2 separate regions of the Homo sapiens genome follow, and region 2 is linked to region 1. Evidence: promoter capture Hi-C in 16 types of primary human blood cells and fetal thymus (Javierre and others, 2016). All regions are on one chromosome and are shown on one strand. Each heading gives the region's core, a stretch centred on a gene start or on the middle of the fragment in contact. The rest is flanking DNA. Distances are from core to core; before and after follow the strand shown.

Region 1 (2,916 bases), core at 1-2,500:
AAATCACAAGTGGGTAGTCTGGCAAAGAAAAGTTGATGAGAGATTCTACTGTTAACGTTGGGTTAATATGACTCGAATAATTTCCGTATGCTAGCTCAATGCTTTACATGCACATCCTGTTTACCCTGCAGTAATCTGTTAATTCGTCTTATGTGAATTTAACTCTTAGTCCTAATAAGGTACCTGGAAGGATGGAGGGAAGCCATTTTTGGTTCCCCTACACCACTGTTCTATCCGGTCTCTTCACTTCTGCTGAGCACATCCCGGGTGTACATACACACACACACACACACATATGTGTGTGTATATATATGTATATGTGTGTGTGTGTGTATATATATATATATTTTAAGTGGCCCACCCCTAACTTCTCAACTCCCACAGAACGTTCACTCGCCAGGTAAACAGAAGCCTAATTATCCCCAATTTGCAGGTGAGCACACGAGGACAAGAACCCGATCCAGGACCGGATACATCGCAGTTGGAAAGGCTAGAACACAGATGCCCCCTCACTATATGCGCCGCGACCATCTGGATGCAGAGGCGAACTAAGGACTGGGTGGGAATGGAAGCGAGGCCCTTCGAGAAGAGGAAGGGGTGCAGGCCAAGCCGGGCAACTTAGGAAACGCAAAGTAGAGGCGCATGCCACCTTGCTAACTCTCGACTCTTCCAGTCTCGCCCCAGTCGTTTCTGTGGTTTTCTCTAAATGCCCCAGCCGACCGCACCAGCTACTCTCCCCGTGTCCCAGTACCAGCTGGTCCGGTTCTCTTGGTATCCCGCTCTCTCCTGGAAAAATGGAGGCGCGAATCCTGCCCAATCTACCGCTCCGAGCGCACGTTCACTGCGCACGCTGAAAGGGCGCCAAGCCGACCGCTGCGCTATCGATCGGTCCCACTCTCTCTTGCTTTTCTCGCCATCTTACTTACTGGCACGTTCAAAGGTTAGTTCACCTCCTTGGACTTTATCTCCAATGCGTCAAGCTTGACGTCAAGGGGCTGTTGCTTCACCGATAAATGGCCGACCGCGGAGAGCACCCTGGGGCTGGGACTGCCACAGGTCTGGCTGGCCGTTGGCTCCACCACTTCCGGGTTCTTAGGGAGCAAGTGCGCCTGCGCGCGGTGTGCGCCCTTAAACGCGACTCAAGGCGTCGGGTTTGTTGTCAACCAATCACAAGGCAGCCTCGCTCGAGCGCAGGCCAATCGGCTTTCTAGCTAGAGGGTTTAACTCCTATTTAAAAAGAAGAACCTTTGAATTCTAACGGCTGAGCTCTTGGAAGACTTGGGTCCTTGGGTCGCAGGTGGGAGCCGACGGGTGGGTAGACCGTGGGGGATATCTCAGTGGCGGACGAGGACGGCGGGGACAAGGGGCGGCTGGTCGGAGTGGCGGAGCGTCAAGTCCCCTGTCGGTTCCTCCGTCCCTGAGTGTCCTTGGCGCTGCCTTGTGCCCGCCCAGCGCCTTTGCATCCGCTCCTGGGCACCGAGGCGCCCTGTAGGATACTGCTTGTTACTTATTACAGCTAGAGGTACAAGGGGTTTGTTGAGTGGTGTTGACATGCGCGGGAGGGGTGGGTGGGCTTCAGATTGGATTTTGTCCTCCGAGATCACCTGGGTAAGAAAAGCACAGAAGGTCTCTGCTGTGTTGGAGTTCACGTTCTAGTGGGTGGGGAGACAGACGGTAAGCGTACGGAGAACTTGCAGCTGGGGTGGGTGTTACAGAGGAAAAGCAGGAGTGCGGTTTAACGGGGGCCGCTTTAGATAGAATAGCCTAAGAAGGCCCTTGTCCTGGCTGGATGAGTGGGTGAATTGATGAATGAGAACCTCCTTGCAGAGGCCTTCCCGGTCCGTACTTCTCAGACCGTAGACCTTGGAGCAGTTGTACCGGGATAACTTGCAGTGCTTGTTAAACATATAGCTCCACCGAGAGCCCGGTAAATCAGAATCTCTGAGGGGTAGGACCCAGGTGTCTAGTTATTAACAAACTCTCCAGATGATTCTTAGGTTTCATTGAGAACTAGGGATGCAGACCGGTGCATACAAATCGTCTGGGGACGTTAAAATGCAGAATCTGTTTTTTTAGACCTGGGGTTAGGCCTCAGAGTCTCCATTTCTAAGAACCATCCGGCTGAGGTAGACGTAGCCACTGTCCTTAACTCTCGTAATGTCTCTTCCTCTTCCGTAACCTTCCTTGTCCCTTGAATTAAACGTTTTTCAGCAACCTACTCAGTTCGTCCTTCCCTTCATCTCTGCAGACATGCACAGGTCTGAGGGAGGAAGGAATAAACCGTATAAACCTCCTGCGCTATTAGCCTAACAGCTTTTCTATTCAAAATAGTAGGACTTCTGGTTTGAACTGAATGGATCCTGTGAAAGTCATCTGGTTCTTCAATCTGGTTGCAGATTAGAGTCACCTGAAGGGCAGTCTCCTTGGCGTTGTCTCCAGAATTCTGGATTAGAATCTTATTCCATTCTGCTTGTTATTCAATTTCCCTAGAAAGAAAGGTAGAATAAATTGGAGCAAATGCCTGTAGCTTCTGTCAGAAGAATGTTGAATAAATGTTGTTAGGCCTATGTGATCTCATTAGACTGCTACTTAGAATTGTAAGGGAAGTAAAGCATTAGAGCATGTGTGAAATTAAATATTTGATTAACACAAGTGTGCATTTCCTTGTTGCTGTTTATCAACTTTTACTTACCCACTGTTTTTTTATAAGGGCTGCAGCCTGTAGTCTGGGCCTGGCTTCATCATGGAATTATTTGCTTAATTGTAAAATGGTAATCTTAATTTTTTTTTTTGAGACAGGGTCTCACTCCATTGCCCAGGCCAGAGTGCGGGGATATTTGATAAGAAACTTCAGTGAAGGCCGGGCGCGGTGGCTCATGCCCGTAATCCCAGCATTTTCGGAGGCCGAGGTGGGTG
Region 2 (2,916 bases), core at 168-2,667, about 13 Mb after region 1:
CCCTGCGTCTAATGGCAAAAGGCTGCTGTCGTCATGGCTTCCGGTAAGGTCAGCCAAAGGGTCATAGGGCAAGGGTCACACAATGTATGGAAAAGCCAAGGCCAATCAGGAAAGGCAGTCATCTTAGCCTCAGTGGACACAGCCTCAGCCCCATTGGTCACTTTCAAATTGAAACATCAAGGACTTGTTAAAAAGTTTGAATTCAACATGCAACAATTTAAACATCAAACATTTAACATAACCAAAAATCCCCCCAACCTCCTCCCAATAACATGCCCCAATTAGTTCAAATACAGCATAAAGCTTATTTAGATCTACTTTGTGGTACAATACCACATTACTTAAAAATAGTACATTCTTTGGCCCCCATCAAGTTCCATAGCTTTAAGACCTATACTTTATGCTCCTCCCCTTCCCCGTCCCCCGCGCCCCCTACCCCACCTCCACCCGAGCCTGCCCCCGAACCTCTAACTAATGCACTGATAGGTAAGTAAGGAGAATACAACAAATACAGCCACCCCTTACTTCCTCTGTGGGAAGAACCCGTGACAGTGCTGACAAGGGGCCAGAAGAAGCCACCCACCTCCCAACTTGGCAAATAAACAAAACCAAACACCCAAACCCAATCCCCGCGCTCCGGCGTCCCATGGCTGCCCCGGGCAGACGTGAAGGCAGCGGGGCTCGGGGACACCCAAGTCAAACGACCCCCGGCCCTCGCGCCTGCCCGGGCTGGGAGGCCCCACCCCACCCACCCCCGCCCCCAGGGTCCCCAAGGGCGCGGAGCGCGCGGGGGTGGGACTCACTGCGGCTTCCGTAGCTGTAGCCGTCGCGATCGCGACGCGGGCCCCGGGCGTGCTCTACGATCACGCGCTCGCCGCAGAGCTCCTTGCCGTTCAGCTCGTAAACGGCGTCGTCGGCGTCGCGGGAGTCCTCGAACTCCACGAAGCCGTACCTAGGGGCGGTGCGAGGGCCGGACAACCGCGGGGGAGTCGTTAGCCAGGACGCGCACGTGCGCGCGCCCGTACCCCACCGCGCGCCCCCGCGACGCCGCGCCGTCGCCATCTTTGAGGCCCTGCCACGCGGCGCCGCGGCCTTGGCCGCTTCTTTCCTTGGAGAGTTCCCGCCGCCACCAGGCCTGGGACGCTGGGCGCGGGCGCCCAGGCCCGACTCACCCATTTTTGAGGTCTACTTCGAGGAGGCGGCCATAGCCACTGAAAAAGCGCTGGATGTCCTTCTCCCGGACGTTGTAGCTCAGGCGTCCTATGTAGACGCGCGGCATGTCCGTGGCGGGCGGGGACCCAAGGGCTGGTTGTCGAACGGCGGACCGCAAGCCAGTAACCGCGGTGCGGGTGCGGGGACGGCAAGAGCCCGAACACGCGCCTCACACCACAGGGGCGGCCGAGTCCAGCCACACAATGGCGCGCGCGCGCGCCAGGCTTTCGCTATATGGGCGGCCGGTGGGGCGGGGCCTGGAGCGTGATGTCAGCGCGCAGCGGCACGTCCGTCCCGCGTCGTCCCTGGGCTAGATGGTGACTGGCGAGTCCGTTGCCCGCGACGTTTCGGTGTAGTGCGGTCTTGCTAGCTTCTAGGATTTTTCTCTAGCCCTCCCCACCGTCTTTGAAAACACAATGTCTCTAATCCAGCCGCAGAACTGCTTTCTAATTTGTACCTTTTATAAAACTGTGCGCGATCTCTTCGGGGTTGAAGCTCGGGAGGCGGGCTGAGCGAATCCCCGTTTTTCATTGGTTCTCGAGGTTATCATAATAGGTCGCCGCGGTCTCTGCTTGGTGGCTTAAAACGAGGCTGCGGATTTCTCCCAGCGATTGGTTGATGCTCGTTTTGATGGGGACCGCGGTCTCGGACCCAGTCGCTTGTCTTGTTTCGCAGAATCTGAGGATCGCGCGCCGAGGTCTTGCTGACCGGGCGGAGGTCGCGTTGCGAGCGCGCAGACCCGCCGACATCAGCCTCTCCGGGTCTCACTCGCAGCCTTCGCCTCCCCGGACGTTCCCCTCTCCCTCCATGGGTCTTTCTTGGAGCCCTGGCAGCTTGACTCACTTGTGGATTGGGCTATCCGTGGCAATCCTACGCTCACTGTAGGTGCTCAAAAGGGAGCGTGGACGAGACCCGGCAGCCCTCCCACAGCGACGAACGATTTTTTTTCTCCCGTGTATGGAAAGTCCTTTGTCCCAATACTATCATTTCCTCCACTGACTTGAAAGTGCCTTATTTTGTGAGTTTATCAATGGAGATGCTATTTAAAGCTGTAGAACCAGATTGAAAACCTCAAAGGAGTAAGTTTAAGTGGAGAGCGGAAGACCCAGGCCAACGCCTGGGGTACTCTGAAATTTAAGCGCAGGAAAGGAGACTGGGAGGAGTGACTAGCGAGGTAGGGAGAAGACCAGGAGAGTAGGTGTCACCGCCGAAGCTAAAAAAAAAAAAAAAAAAAAAAAGGGATATCACTGAGATAACACCAGCTCTTTAGATATTTATGTATTCCTGCTCTGTTTTGAGTGGTGCAACCTCAATATCCTTAAGCTTCGGGTTGAAAAAGGGGGGTTTTGTCCTCCTGGAGCTATTTGGAAGTCTAGAGGGAAACGTTGTTTGTCACGACTGGGGGAGGTAGAGGCCGTGCTTAAAGTTAGATAAATAAAAAATACGAGTCTGTAATCCCCACACCTTGGGAAGCTGAGGCAAGAGGATCTCTTGAGCCCAGGTGTTCGAGGCTGCAGTGAGCTATGATCATGCCACTGCACTCCAGCCTGGGTGACAAAGCAAGACTCCAACCTGCCTGAAGGAAAGAACAAAGCTTCCGCAGCGTGGAAGGGGACCCGAGCGGGTTGCCACTGCTGGCTGGACCGCCAGTTTTTAGTCCCTTATTTGGCCCTGCCTACATCCTGCTGATTGGTCCATTTTACA

The links. The method cuts DNA at HindIII sites, captures the fragments that hold promoters and counts their contacts. A CHiCAGO score of 5 or more calls a contact.
Region 2: the fragment with the promoter of SRSF6 here is called in contact with the fragment with the promoter of AURKA in region 1 in 1 of 17 cell types (fetal thymus); the score reaches 8.0 in fetal thymus.

Annotation. Positions count from the first base shown.
Region 1 is chr20:56,390,549-56,393,464 of GRCh38, reverse strand. AURKA (aurora kinase A) reads left to right here and starts at 1,250. Exons shown (of 9, transcript NM_198437.3): 1 at 1,250-1,297. It overlaps CSTF1 (cleavage stimulation factor subunit 1), which reads right to left and starts at 820. Exons shown (of 6, transcript NM_001324.3): 1 at 752-820. RefSeq lists an enhancer at 865-1,104. The HindIII fragment of the contact is 5,454 bases long and covers 983-2,916 here.
Region 2 is chr20:43,456,397-43,459,312 of GRCh38, reverse strand. It overlaps SRSF6 (serine and arginine rich splicing factor 6), which reads right to left and starts at 1,417. Exons shown (of 6, transcript NM_006275.6): 1 at 1,173-1,417; 2 at 804-952. The coding sequence starts at 1,279. RefSeq lists silencers at 631-890, 901-1,000 and enhancers at 1,141-1,240, 672-1,619, 1,541-1,700, 1,761-2,080. The HindIII fragment of the contact is 2,232 bases long and covers 306-2,537 here.